Linked DNA regions of Homo sapiens: region 2 is linked to region 1. Evidence: promoter capture Hi-C in 16 types of primary human blood cells and fetal thymus (Javierre and others, 2016). All regions are on one chromosome and are shown on one strand. Each heading gives the region's core, a stretch centred on a gene start or on the middle of the fragment in contact. The rest is flanking DNA. Distances are from core to core; before and after follow the strand shown. Region 1 holds the start of NUBPL (NUBP iron-sulfur cluster assembly factor, mitochondrial). Region 2 overlaps G2E3-AS1 (G2E3 antisense RNA 1).

Region 1 (7,530 bases), core at 1-2,500:
ACAGCCTGGGTGACAGAGCGAGATTCCGTCTCAAAAAAAAAAAAAAAAACAAAAAAAAAAAGTTACTAGATGTTTTAAAAATAACAGCAACCAATTATTGAACACTAGTAAACACTAAGCTAAGTGGTTAGCTTGTGCAATTTGAATAACCATCTTATGAAAGAAGTTATCTCCATTTTACAGTTAAGTGAACTGAAGATTTGCTGTACAATCTGACCACTTTTTCCTGAGTTAAGGGGTGGGAGACCCGGCTAGTACCTACTTTTGTCTAACTCCAAAATCTAAGCGTCTACCCGCTACCAACTCCTGAAACTAAGGAATCACATGTTAGGAACTTCACAAATAAATTTTTAAAACACAAAACTATAATTTCAATAGTGTGCACTTGTCTGTTGGCATAAGTTCTTAATCAGGAATAGAATTAATATCCTATAATACCTGCTGTAGTAGATTTTCCGACTCCACCCTTTCCAGAAGCCACAACTATAACTTGTTTAACACCTTCTATCGGTTTCTGCTTTGGAAGTCCTCGGGACATGATTTGTGTTCTTCTTTGTTTTAGGGTCTCACTCCCGGCGCCAGACAACTTTAAAAAATAATAATAATAAAAAGCCGTTTTAAATAAGCCATCTCCATCATCACACTGTAAAAGCAAAAACAATCTGGGGTTTGCAATTAAGAGGGCTTTCTTTTCTAATTCTGCTCATCTTCACTATGGAGACATTTACCTACTACTACTGATAACAATTGTAAAGACACATTGCTTAAATTGAAATTTTTCTAGCAGGATACGCTGAACGTTTAAAAATGTAAAAACGCTGCCTCTTTACGGAGATAAGGCTTCCACGTGTTTTGCTTTTCTTCAATCTATTTGATAAATAACCCAAAGCCAAGAAAGCAATGTAGAATACCACATCTACGTTCTAACTGTGTTTCAAGTCCCGCCACGCCTCAGCCTGGGCCTGCCTGAAAAGTAGGCACGTCCAGCACACTGGGGGTCTCAGGAACTGAGGCGAGTCTTTGGCAAGAAGCAATGCCAGGGCATCTGCGGCCCTGCAGCCCAGCATCTGTCAGCCCGCTTCCCCCTGCCCTGCAGCACCACGGACCTGGCGCCCACAAACCATCGCTCGGCTTCCCCCAAGCGGGGCAGTGGCCCCGCCACCAGCCCGGAGCGACACCCCACCAAAAAGCAGCAGACGCTGCCAAATCCCCATGACGCGGAACGCTGCTGTGAGCCCTGCTGGGAAACTGTCGCGGGTGGCGCGGAGTGATGACGTCACGGAGCAACGCTCGGCTTTCTCTTCCTAGCAACCGGTCTTCTTTGGGTTTGTTGGCTCAGGAACCCAATCTGCATGATCTTGTTTATAGCCAGCTACAAACATTTTGCAGCGTTTTACTAAACGTTTGTGAAGTGTTGTCATATAAAACATCTCTTATGATACTTACAGAAGTCCCGAGGTAGACAGAAGACTTACCTAGTATACTCTTTTTATGGACAAGAAAACGGAGAAAGTTTAAAGAGACTTGACCCAGCTTAACAAAAGTAGGAAATGGGGGACCTTGAAAATGACCCCAGGATTTCTTACTAAGCAGTATATGGTCATTTAAATACTACCACCGTTAAGGATTTTACCTTTTTATTTTATTTTTTCCCGTGTGATCTACAGTGAGAGTCTGTTTTGCGTTGGTATTCATGGCTTGTGTTGCTGACAGTTCCCTGAAAGAAAGGTCAGGTTGCTTTACCAGCAACCTGGTAAAGAACTTTGCAAGTTCTTCCAGACTTAAGACTCATTTATTTAACAAATATTCGTTGAGCAACTACTATGTACCGAGTACTACAGTAGACTTAAAATATTCAGCATTGAGACCGACATAATTCCTCCACTAAAGGGCTTTATAATCCAGTGCAAAAGACAGAATAAGTTAACAACAAAATTGCGGTATAATATGATAAGTACAGGAGAAAAGCATTGAGGGATACAGGAGAAAGGACAAAGTGATACAAAGAAAGGGCACTCAATTCAATCAGGGGAAGCTTCTAAATTAGGTAATATCTAAGCTGAATGCTGAATCTGAATAATGTGTAGAAGTTAGCTGGGAGAATGGCAAGGAGATTGTTGTAAAGAGGTTAGAAATGGACTGCTAAGGCTAGGCATGGTGGCTCACGCGTGTAATTCCAACACTTTGGGAGGCCAAAGCAAGAGGATTGCTTGAGCCAGGAGTTCAAGGATGCAGTGAGCTATGATTGCACCACTGCACTCCAGCGTGGGCAGCAGAGTGACACCTTGTCAGAAGAAGAAGAAAGAAGGAAGGAGGAAGGAGGAAGAGGAAATTAAAAGGAGAAGAAAGAAGAAGGAAGAAGAAAGAAGAAGAGAGTAGAAGGAAGAAAGATGAAAGAAGAGAGAAAAGCCCCCGCCCGGCCAGCTGCCCCGTCCGGGAGGGACGTGGGGGGCAGCCCCCATCCGGTCAGCCGCCCCGTCCCGGAGGGAGGTGGGGGGCAGACCCCGCCCGGCCGCCACCCCGTCCGGGAGGTGGAGTCACCTCTGCCCGGCCACCCCGTCTGGGAAGTGAGGGGCCCCTCTGCCCAGCCGCCACCCTGTCTAGGAGGTGTACCCAACAGCTCATTGAGAACGGGCCATGATGACGATGGCGGTTTTGTCGAATAGAAAAGGGGGAAATGTGGGGAAAGGAAAGAGAGATCAGATTGTTACTGTGTCTGTGTAGAAAGAAGTAGACATAGGAGACTCCATTTTGTTCTGTACTAAGAAAAATTATTCTGCCTTGGGATGCTGTTAATCTATAACCTTACCCCCAACCCCGTGCTCTCTGAAACATGTGCTGTGTCCACTCAGGGTTAAATGGATTAAGGGCGGTGCAAGATGTGCTTTGTTAAACAGATGCTTGAAGGCAGCATGCTCGTTAAGAGTCATCACCACTCCCTAATCTCAAGTACCCAGGGACACAAACACTGCGGAAGGCCGCAGGGTCCTCTGCCTAGGAAAACCAGAGACCCTTGTTCACATGTTTATCTGCTGACCTTCCCTCCACTATTGTCCTATGACCCTGCCAAATCCCCCGCTCCGAGAAATACCCAAGAATGATCAATAAATACTAAAAAATAAAAATAAAAAAATAAAAAAGATATCAAAAATAAAAATAAAAAAAGAAAGAAGAGAGAAAAGAAGAGAGAACACAAGAGGAGTAGAAAATACATTTCTTTTCTGGATTGTTAAGAACTGTAAATGATCTGTGCAACTTAGGACAAAGTGACTAAAAGAGATGAGGATGGAGTGAAGGTTGGTTAGATGGAGGTTGCCTAAATCAAGAAAGGCTGTATATATCTTGTAAAGAAATTTGGACTTTATCCTAAGGGAACTATAGAAGGATTTTAAGCAGGAAAGTAACATCAGATTTGTGTTTTAGAAATACCACTATGATTACTGGGTTAAAAAAGAAATGGATCAGCGGGGCAAGATCAGAGACAAGGAGACATGAGGTCTCTCTCTTGAAGGCTTGACTTAACATCTCTAAATTTCACTTTGTTATCAATAAAATAGTTAATTCCTACTTCTATGGTTGTTGTGAGGTTGAACTTAAGATAATGCATGTAGAACAGCTGTCACAGAGTTAGTAATTGTTAGCTATTGTGGTAATCATTGGTTGTGTAGAGGTTTATGACATGAGCAACTAGATGAATTCCCTGAGAGAAAACATAAGAGGAGGAGCAAGTGAGAATAATGTTTGTAGAATGGCTGAATCATTACTTTGGTTTACCTTTCCCCAAATTAAAATTTTAGGAGAGTAGTAGAGATGTTTCTTCTCCAAAAAACACTGACACACATATACATATCCATGGCCTCTTTTCAAAAGGGTATTCTCCTTTGGTCCTAAGAATTGCTAAGTCATTTGACCCCATTCCCAAGGTCACTAATTGGACTAAAGACTGATGTACAACCAAAAAATTGACCAATCAGATTAATTCTCCAGAGAGCCTGGAAAATAAAAGTAACAGGTGTTAGTCAATCTTAGTTTGTCTTTGAGCTAATACAGTTGAAATTACTATTTTCTACTATGTGCATGCAGAAGCAGATAAAGCCAATGCAAGAGAGAAGAAGAAAGTAGATCATAAGAGATCATGTTACCATAGAGGAAAGGGAGAAGAGCTGCACTGGTTCATAACTTTTCAGTTCCTGGTTCCAGTTCATAATGAGGTTCAACCGGACTTCCTATCCTTAGGTCCATAAGATATACTTACATCCACCCAATAAATTTACTGTCTTAGTCTAATTTGGATGGGTTTCTGTGTATTTGTAACTATGCTGAGATATATTTTTAAATATGTGTCAATAATTTTCTCCCTATAATTCCTTGTATCTCGCATAGCCCTTCCCCATTTGGACAAATTATATGGAATCATTTTCTGACACAGCAAAATGTCTGACCCAATAAAAATGTCAGAGAAAAGAGGTTGTTTTCTTGGTTTTGAATTTTGGAAGTTGGGACCTTTTAGAAGAATGGAGACAGCTCTGGCAAAGACAATAGATTGGAAGACCTACATAGTGATATAAAAACATGATTTATTGCCTATATTAGTTAGGATTACATTTGGCTGCAAGTAGCAGATAACTCTACAGTTGTATTAAACAAGTAGGGGTATATTAGTCTTATATGAAAAGTTCAGAATTATATCACAGAGGTCCAATACGATGAATCCATAGTGCCGTCATGTTCCAAATCAATTCTTTTTGTTCCATCATCTTGGTATCCTTGGTATCCATTTTCATCCCCTCATAGTCATGAGATGTTTGTTGTACCTTCAGGCATCAAAGCTATGTTCCATATAGGAAGAGGAGGGAATGACAAAGAGAATTTCCTAGTGAGCCTTTGCCTTTTTTATTCAGGAAAGGAAGACACACACACACACACACACACACACCCGACTGGCTAGAACCGGGTCACATGACCATCCTTAGAACCAAGAGAAACTGAGAAATTAAGCATTTAGAGCTCTCTAACCTGTAGAGTAGAGGAAAGCAATGGAGAATGTGACTGGAAGTGGGTAGTCAATGAGCCAAGTTAGTATCTGTCCTAGACAGACTATAACAAGTTTCCTGGGATTATGAGGGATGAAGAGAATCTGAAGAAAACTGAGAACTTAAATATCCATGGGTTCTTGTACCAGTCATTTGTAATTGGCTAACCCAATGTGGTAAAGGGAAATTTTTCTGGGAAGTTTCTGAGAAAGCTTTTGCTTTTCTGATTGAGTGGAACGTAGTTGGTGCTAACTCCTTTTTCCCACCTTGACCATGGATGTGACATGGAGATGTGGCAGTCATCTTGTGAACATGAAAAGCACAATAATGACAACCACAATAATAGAAGCCAAAAGCTGAGGAAGACAAAGAGGAAATATGGCAAGAAGATGAATTCTTGGCAGTATAACTAAGCTGCTATACCAGTCCTGGTCTGCATTTCCAGACCTCTGGTTATGTGAGATATTTAAGCCACTGTTGGCTAGGATTTCTGTTATTTGAGCTACAATAATCTGTGCCTGTTACAGCGAATAAGAAGGACTCCCATACTCTGAGACTACCTCTCTCCTGTTCACCCAAGATTAATCTCTAGTGGGGAGGGGGGACAACAGAACCCCAAATCAGCTTGGGGGATGTGAAAACAACAGAATCAATGTCCCCATTACCAGGTGGAGCTCAGTGCAGTGGCAGAACCACAGAATAAGAATGGTTGAGTGTTATGTTTAGGCAGATAGATAGATCTGAGTGAGCCACAAAGTGGCTAAGAGAATGCTGATCCTAAAGAGTCCTTAAGGTCAAGAATTAGGGAACATTTGGCAACAATCTGCATGGTTAGTTATTAGCATCTCCATGGATGCTGGTATGCATAGATAAATACCTTGAAGATGAAGTTCACCTCAGCATGTGGATATCTGGACACTGCATAGGCTGTCTGTGACTTAGCTACAATCCTGGTGGAATCTGTATTGAACAAGATTTTCCCCCACCCTGACAGAAATTTATAAATAAATAAATAAATACTGATCAAAATAAAGAAGATTCTTTTGAATATCTCCTAATTATGTGTAGAGTAATACCTTGTATTGTTTTCTAAAAAGGAAGGATTTATACCTGTAAGGTTGCCCTCGTTCCTCCCAAAAGACAACCCTTCTTAGGTGACTAAGGACTCACTGAAGTTTCAGATTCCCTCACAGATAAGAAGACTACCTCATTCCCTTTCCATAGGCCTCAGGCTGTGTCAATGTCAGCTGAGAACGTGTGATCCACTCCCTTGCTCAACTCACTAAGGAAGAATAGGGTATCTTGGACAGTTTGTCTCTGTTGAATATACTGAATAAAGCTCAGAAACTTATTTCAGTTCCTTTAGTTTGAGGTTACTGTCCACAACTGACCTTCTCATCCTGTCCAAAGGCTCACCAAAAAGAAAACCTTATCCCATCTATGGGACTTGTCTAAATGGCAACCCCCTTAATTGACCCTACTTTGCCTCACACTGTGATTTGTTTTCAAACCTCCCTGTTCATGGCTCCAAGCATGAAACTGTCTCTTAGCTACATTGAATACTAATTTGCACATTGAAATATAGAATAAATCTGTTTAAGTGAATAGCTCCCACAATGAGCCACTCTCTCAATATGAAATGTGATCTAGAAATTCATGGCCTTTCCCCTATCAAAGACTTTGCTGGCCTTTCAGCATCTTAACTGGCATAAACTAGTCCTGTCAAAGACGTTCCCCATTCTTATAATTTAAAATTACATAAAGGAAATGTATGTATCTTTGTAGATGGGATAGACTTCAGAGAATATGCCTCAAATGACTAAAAATACACCTCTATACTTTGACAGCATGTGTTTCTAAATGCCCATATCCAAAGCTGAATAAATCATGAATGATTTGACATTTGAATTTCTGATTTACAAGACTGAACTGAATCCTTGGACAAAGGTCACAGGCTTGCTTTATACCTGAATATAGTCTCTGATTAATGTTTAAAGCTTCAAAGAGCCCATCCTGAAACAGGAGCCACACAATCAGAATTTGGAAAAAAATTTGTCACCCAAGACAAATATTTGCGAGGCACGGAACCCCAGAATTCCCATGTTTTTGCTTTTTCATTTTCTCCAGTACCAAACAAGTATTCCTTTAGCCAAGCCCCTCCCACCTTTCAATTCTTAGAGACTAGAGAACATAAGTTTCTACAAGACTTTGCTGAAACCTTACTTCATTAGGTATTCAGAAGAGGATTTTCCTGTTTTTACTTTAGAGGACATACCAAGGACAATGACAGAGACCCATCATGATACCAAGCATTCATTTCAGCTCATGTGAAGTTCTGTTTTCTTCAGGAAAAATGAGATAATGTAGATGTTTGTCTGTTTTATGCTGCTGCCAAAATGTGAGGATGTTCTCTATAATCGTGTGGCTTGGATAATATCTTATCTACTTGGTGTTCTGGTACCCAATCTTGTTGATTCATTTATTAACCTTTTCTATT
Region 2 (7,530 bases), core at 3,439-5,938, 1.0 Mb after region 1:
TTGGCAGAAGAATTCCTATAATCTACTCTAAAAGGTTTTTACCACAACCAACATGAGTAACAGAAATGATAAAATGCGTAGAAATAAATTTTAAAGAAAATTCACAAAATCAAATTAGAATTCAATTTAATTTAAAATAATTTTTAAATTTTAAATACAGTTTTAAAGAAATTTTCTTTAAAGAAAGATATAGAACCTGCTACTTTAAAATATAATTTGAGAACATAAGTGATTTCAATGTTCATATAGGAAAATTAATATGTAAGAATTGTTAAGACATATTAGAAAAAGAAAACAGAGGTCAGGAGTAGACAATTTGTCTTACTAGAGAGTAAAAACTTACCACAAAGCTGCTACAAAGAGTAGCCAAAAAAAAAAATCAGACAAAAAATATAGTATTAGCACAAAAAAGAAAAAGAGAATCCAGAAAAATGAAACTATATAGAGAATATTAATATATTATAAAGGTGATATTTCCTTTTCAGGAAAAGGATGGGTTCATTCATAAATTAACAAGAACTGGAAATAACTGGCCAGCTATATGGAAGATATAAAGTTAGGCCTGTACCTTTTATCATATACCAAAATAAATTCTAGAAACATTAAAGATTGAAATTTTAAAAAATAAAACAAAAGTATATTGGGGAGAAGTTTAGAACGGTAACTGTGACTTTAGGGTAGAAGAGACTTCTCAAACAAGGCAGGGCCAGGTGCAGTAGCTCTTGCCTGTAATCCTCGCACTTTGAGAAAGCCAAGGCGGGAAGAGCACTTCAAGCCAGGAGTTTGAGACCAGCCTGGGCAACATAGTGAGACTGCTGGCTCTACGAAAAACAATTTTTTAAAAAATTTAGCTGGGTGTGGTGGTGTGCACCTGTAGTCCCAGCTACTCAGGAGGCTGAGGTGGGAGGATCCCTTGAGCCCAAGAGTTGGAGGTTGCAGTGAGCTGTTGCACCACTGCACTCCAGCCTGGGTGACAGAGCAAGACCGGAATCCTAGAAACCATAAAATAAAAGATGAGTATGTTTCATTATGTTAAAGTTTAAAATATTTGAACAGCAAAAGTCACCATGACACATTGAAAGATAAATGAGGGACAATGATAAAATATTTATAAAACATAGGACACTAGGTTAACAATTCTAATGTAAAAACTTTTATAATTTTTTTCAAAAAGCAATAAAAATGGGCAGAAGAAATGAACAAGTAATTCATTGAAAAGGAAATGAAAGAGGACAAGACACAGAAAATACTCAACTGTACTACCTCACTTTTGGGAATACAAATCAACCAACCAAATACCAAGTTTATTGGATTAGCAAAAATTAAAACAATTCACAATATCCCACACTGGGAGAGTGTGGTGGTAAAATGTACACTCTTTTTTTTTTTTTTTTTTTGAGACAGAGTCTTGCTCTGTCACCCAGGCTGGAGTGCAGTGGCGCGATCTTGGAGCTTGCATTTGGTATATGATAAAAGGTACAGGCCTAACTTTATATCTTCCATATAGCTGGAGTGCAGTGGCGTATCACTGCAACCTCCACCTCCCAGATTTAAGCAATTCTCCTGCCTCAGCCTCCTGAGTAGCTGGGATTACAGGCATGTGCCACCATGCCAGGCTAATTTTTGTATTTTTCTAGTAGAGATGGAGGTTTCCCCATGTTGGTCAGGCTGGTCTTGAACTCCTGACCTCGTAATCTGCCCGCCTCGGCCTCCCAAAGTGCTAGGATTACAGGCGTGAGCCACTGCGCCCGGCCAAATGTACACTCTTATCCACAGGAGCATACATTGCTACAGCTCTTGGAAAGTAACTCAGGCTTTTCTCAACTTTGGGATTCTCCTATAGAAATAAGCATGCTAGTGCTTTTTGAAGCACTACTTACAGTGGCTGCTAACTGGAAACAACTATAAAGAGGAAGATAATTGAATGAGTTAGGGTACATCCATCCTGTTAGGAGGCCATCCAAAGTTGTGTTGCTTTGCCCCCTAAACCATTGCCTCCAGAGTTAGGGCTATTGAACCCCCAAAGACATGCAAATAAGAAGGTATGGTATTCTTTAATTAGAGAAATAACAATGCTATCTTATACTGTAAAGCTGATAAACCTGGCACTCATTCTTAAATTAGCGCCCACTAGAATTAGTATACACTTTTGGACTAAATTGTCCTTTACAGGAACTCATTCCTCCTCTGTGTTAGCCATATTGAACTTCTGGTAACCCTTCCTGCCTTTCAGATGAATCAGATTTTTGTTTTACCCTCAGCCACTACCCACATTTGAAGCAAATACTTGACTCATACTTAAGGCAGATCCATCCCTGAATGTCTGTTCACTTTTCTTTTATCTTCCACCTTGAGGATAAATTTCTAGCTTTCTCTCTAGCCTGTCTCCTCAGCAATACCGATTAATATTCTGCCTGGTATCTGATAACCCCTCACTTATCTGTTGCCTTGATTAGAGACCATCCCTGAGATCTTAGAATGAAAGTTTTTAATTAAGTTTTCTGTGACTCAGAGCCCTAATAGAGTCATACTATAAGAAGTGTACTTTGAGGCCGGGTGCAGTGGCTCACACCTGCATTTTATGTGGCTCACATAAAATATGTCACAATCAGCTACTCAGAATACAGGCCACTGTAGGACTCTATTCCCAAACTTCTACTTCACTAACCTCTAACAAGAATGTAAAAGCATGAAATAGAGGTAATTCTCTTCTCTCCAGGTGACTTTATATCTTAATCATTCCTACTGTACTCATGATCTTGTTACTGCTCCCGTATTTACCTCAGGTTTGTTTTTTACTTCCTCCTTTAATGGTCTTTTTTTCTTCTTCCCCTCTCTGTGCTCACTGTCCTTATCTGTTACTTAGGCTTCCTCTATGATTCTCAGCAATATTTGAATACTTTGGAATATACTTAGTATTTCTAATTATGGCATTAATGCTACAAAATTTTCATCCCATGATTCCAAAATAAATTAGCCTATATTATCATTATTATTACTATTAATTGTTGAGACAGGATCATGTTCTGTCACTCAGGTTGCAAGTGCAGGGATATGATCATGGCTCACTGCAGTCTCAACCACCTGGGCTCAAGTGATCCTCTCATTTCAGCTTTTCAAGTAGCTGGGGCCACAGGCACGCACTGCTATGCCCAGCTAATTTTTTTTTTTTTTAATTTTTGTAGAGATGGGGGAATCTCGCTATTTTGCCCAGGCTGGTCTTGAACTCCTGGGTTCAAGTGATCCTCCTGCCTCAGCCTTCAAAAGTGCTGAGATTACGGGTGTGAACCACTGCCCCCAGCCATAGCCCATATTGTTGATCATCTCTTGTGTTGAAGACATAATGATAATATCATACGAAATAAGTACATGACCATTATTAGTGTATGACTCCATGATTAATAATAATTTGCCAAGCTTCTGCTATGCTGTCAGCAGTGCTAATATGTTTCTGAATGGAGTTGTATTCATTTTCTCAAGCAGAAAGGGCTTGATGCCTGATGCACTAAAAGCCAATATACAATGACTCTGGGCTGTTGGGAAAAGAAAAGCTTTTTGTTATATGTCAACTCACAAGAAGACAGGAGTCCAGCTCAAAGCCGTCTCTCTGTGTTGGCTTTACTTTTATTAGAAAAGGTTTAGGGGGTGATTCTGAGACTAGTAGGTGATTGGTGGAAGAAAAGGGGAGGTCTGGAAAGTCCTCAGGCACGCCCAGTTATCCCTTTGTGCCTCCTCATGGGTCACAGGTGCAAATTTAGGGGGACTTAATATGAAATGTGGTAGAAATTCAGGCTGTGACATCAACAAATTTGCTCTGCGCAAACTCCAGTTGGCCACATTGTTTCCAACAGTTCAGTTCATTGTTTCATCCAGTTTTTTAAAATCCCTCAAGTAGAGGGAGTTTCAGCTTTTCGGCAAGTTGTTTCCTTTTATTATTGACTAACCTTCAAATTCAAGAATGTCTGTTAGTTATTGGTTTCTTTAACTCTTTGGAGCACAGTTTCATTCATGTGTTTACTAATATGTTTCTTACATTCATTTGCGTGACCAGTCTTTTTATATCAATTTTTGAACTTGAATTAAGATACATTTTTGGGAAAGTATGTTGTCTGCTATCAAACAGAAGTCTTTTCTTCATTGTCTATTTACTTGGATCTTTTGATCTAAAGTGTTCATCTAACTGCTGTTCAGTCTCTTGTAAGTTAAACACACCTCCTCCTGGCAGCAGGAAGCAGCATCCAAAACAGCGAATTTCAGGTCTTTTGTTTCAGGGTTGTTTGGATAATAAGTAGCTATACAGTAACCACAGTGATTTGGATTGACATCATGCCTGCTGGGTAACTGTATGGATTTTACAAAGGACTCAAAGTTTGCTTGTAGCCAATATGAGACATGTGTTTTAATATAGGTCAAAGATGTGGTATGTTTATGTTAACATTACTCCTCTCTAAGTTGGTGTTTCAAACAAATGATTGTCTGGATTGCTTTTTAAAATTGCTGTCTTTTGGCCTGAAGTGTTTACATAGAAATCAGAGCCTCTTTACAGTTAAGAGTAACTCCAAATGCAGGAACACACATTGGTAATGCCACCCAGAATAAATCAAGTAATGAACAACATGCTTGAACTGAATCTTTAACATTCTTGGATACAATTGCTGGCAATCAAAACTGTTTTCAGTTTGTGTACTTTGATTTTTTAATCCCTCCCAGAATACTTGCGGAAAATGACTCCGCAACTGAATTGATAAAGTGACTCAGTTATAATAAGCCCAATCCTTACCTGAGTGTTTTGTTGGGGGTGAAAGAAAACTTCAAATTCTCACAAAGGTCTAGGGCACAGAATCATCACTTAGGAAGCAGGCACTTGCTCAAAGTTTAGCTTCAACACTTAGGGCCATTCTTTAGGAAACATTTTTCAAGGATAGTAAGTAGTGCAATGTTAAGAGGCGAACCTGAAAGCAAAACAGGCTGAGGTTTAAATACTAGCCGTTTTACTTACTAGCTAAGTATGAAGTACCCAATCCTTTGAGCTTCACTACACATTAATCAGATGTAAATAATAACTACCTGACAGGTTTCTTGTGAGCTCTAAGTGAGAGGACATTTAATGGTAATTATAATTAGGCAAATGGGTAAGACATACAGTTAACATCCCCTTCCTTCTCCTTTCAATGGCATCTGGCATTCCATGCCCAGTATCCTTAGGCTTGTGAGCCACTGAAAGGCACAAAGGAACTCTCCTCCCAGGTGGATCTTAGCCTCATATTCCTTTTCTCTGCCCTTCAGAACATATGATACATTCCTTAGTGACCTGCTGTCTACTTTCCACCTTGGTAGTGATTTGAGTTAATCCATGTTTATAGAAAGAGCTAATAAACTAGCTCTAATAGGTCATATTTGTAGCTGAAATAGTGAGAATTTCAGGGCAGTTTGATGTAATGTTTGCTATTTAACCCCTGTACAATTTTTTAAATTGTTTGGGTTTGCAAGTCTAGTATCTCCAAGTTGACTCACTTCTTAGGTATTGTACAGTAATAGATATTAAACTTTAGCCTTCCCACAGTGGTCATAATGGGGCAATGAGTCTTCCTGTAGGTGAGGTTAACTAATAAAAGGTATATGATTGGAAAAACATAAAAGGAACTAACATTTGTTTAATGCTTTCTACATTCAAAACACTGTGCTAAAACTAAATGTTGATTTACTTAATCTTGACAAAGTAGGTGATGAAACTAGGGCTTAATAAGATTAAATAATTTGTCCAAGGCCACAGTAGGCAGAACTGGTATTTTAACTATAGCTTGTTTGGTTGGACACAAAGCTTGTTCATTTTCCATTACAATATTTCAATTCACACACCCAGCAGAGATAGGAGCAGTGATAAGAAACCTAATATTAATCTAAAACAATTAGCTAATAGCAAAGTTTTTTTTTGTGAGAAATTTGCTTGTTCATCTATAGAACTGTAGGACGTTAGTTTAATAAAGAACCTCAGATATCATCTAGTATTAGGTAGAAGCTTTGTTAATATTAGTACAGAGACGACTTTTTAGTACTAGACTGAAGGATGAATTAGATCAACAATTTTCAAAATGTGGTTCATGAGGTCAAACTATCTTCAAAATAATACTAAGACCGTTTGCCTTTTCACTTATATTCTCTCACAAGTGTACAATAGAGTTTTCCAGAGGCTGCATGGGGTGTGATATTGCAACAGACTGAATGCAGAAACTGATATGAAAATCCAGTGATTTTCTTTTTCTTTTCTTCTTTTTTTTTTGAAATGGAGTCTCACTCTGCCACCCAGGCTGGAGTGCGGCAGCGTGATCTGAGCTCACTGCAACCTCCGCCTCCCGGGTTTCAGTGATTCTCCTGCCTCAGCCTCCCTGGTAGTTGGGACTACAGGCACCCACCACCACACCCCGCTAATTTTTTTGTATTTTTAGTAGAGACAGGGTTTCACCGTGTTAGCCAGGATGGTCTCGATCTCCTGACCTTGTGATCTGCCTGCCTTGACCTCTCAAAGTGCTGGGATTACAGGCATGAGCCACTGTGCCCAGCCAATCCAGTGATTTTATATTAAATTATCCACCAGAGAGATTTATATAAAGGTAAAACAATGCCATTCTTCTCACTAAATTATTTTTGTTTTAGAAAACACAAATATTTATGTTAGCATGTAGTTTCATAACGTTATTTTAAATAACAGTCCCACCCTTCAGCCCAATAGTGGGCAGCTGTGAATATGTTTCTGGAGCAGCTTGCACACAGCTTGCAGGAACCAGAACAGGCAAAAAGGACCATGTCCTAAAAATATTGGGGATCTGTGCTGTGATCATTGATTGCTGCATCTGATCACAGAGGTATAGAAAAAGAGGTGGTGGTCATTACGGTTGCACTAACCCCCATTGTTGCAAACCCTCCCACTCCTCTGGCTAAAGTAATATCCAGGAGATTTAAAGAGGCAGAGCCTTTTCTCTCCTGTTATTTTTCTCTGTCTCCCCTTATGGAAGTAAGACATTGAAGACTAGGACATTCAAAAGCAACTGCATATGTAAGGAAAACTAGAAAGTCACCACACACGCCCAGGTGAAGGTGCAGGCTCAGCAAAGACCAGAGAAGGCCTTAAGTTTAAACCTCAGGCTGATCCTCAGCACAGACACAACCTATAACAATAACAGCAACAAAAATAATAATAAAACCCAAAACACCAGCAAAACCTAGGGAAGGGAGAGAACCTGATTTCCAAAGGTACGACATTATTAGATGCAAATATACAGTTTTCAACAACAACAAAAAAATCACAAAGCATACAAAGAAACAGGAAAGTATGGTCTTTTCAAAAGGAAAAAAACAATAAACTATCTTTGAAAAAGACTGGATGGCAGATCTACTAGACAGACAAAGACTTTAAAACAACTGTCTTAAAGATGCTCAAAGAACTAAAGGAAGAAATGACAGTCAACAAAATGATGTCTGAACAAAATGGAAAAATCATTAAAGAAATAAAAAGCCTAAAAAGAAAAAAAT

What was found. The method cuts DNA at HindIII sites, captures the fragments that hold promoters and counts their contacts. A CHiCAGO score of 5 or more calls a contact.
Region 2: a fragment that was not itself captured here is called in contact with the fragment with the promoter of NUBPL in region 1 in 1 of 17 cell types (activated CD4 T cells); the score reaches 5.4 in activated CD4 T cells.

What each region holds. Positions count from the first base shown.
Region 1 is chr14:31,555,124-31,562,653 of GRCh38, reverse strand. NUBPL (NUBP iron-sulfur cluster assembly factor, mitochondrial) reads right to left here and starts at 1,250. Exons shown (of 11, transcript NM_025152.3): 1 at 1,107-1,250; 2 at 439-586. The coding sequence starts at 1,214. It overlaps NUBPL-DT (NUBPL divergent transcript), which reads left to right and starts at 1,323. Exons shown (of 3, transcript XR_943720.2): 1 at 1,323-1,543. It overlaps LOC105370438 (a long non-coding RNA gene), which reads right to left. Exons shown (of 4, transcript XR_943723.3): 4 at 4,558-4,829. RefSeq lists enhancers at 526-1,081, 1,008-1,407. The HindIII fragment of the contact is 6,263 bases long and covers 1-2,037 here.
Region 2 is chr14:30,548,524-30,556,053 of GRCh38, reverse strand. The region is part of intron 3 of G2E3-AS1 (G2E3 antisense RNA 1); the gene reads left to right. Among named protein-coding and RNA genes, the nearest start is that of G2E3, 6.9 kb to the left of the region's middle. The HindIII fragment of the contact is 2,270 bases long and covers 3,554-5,823 here.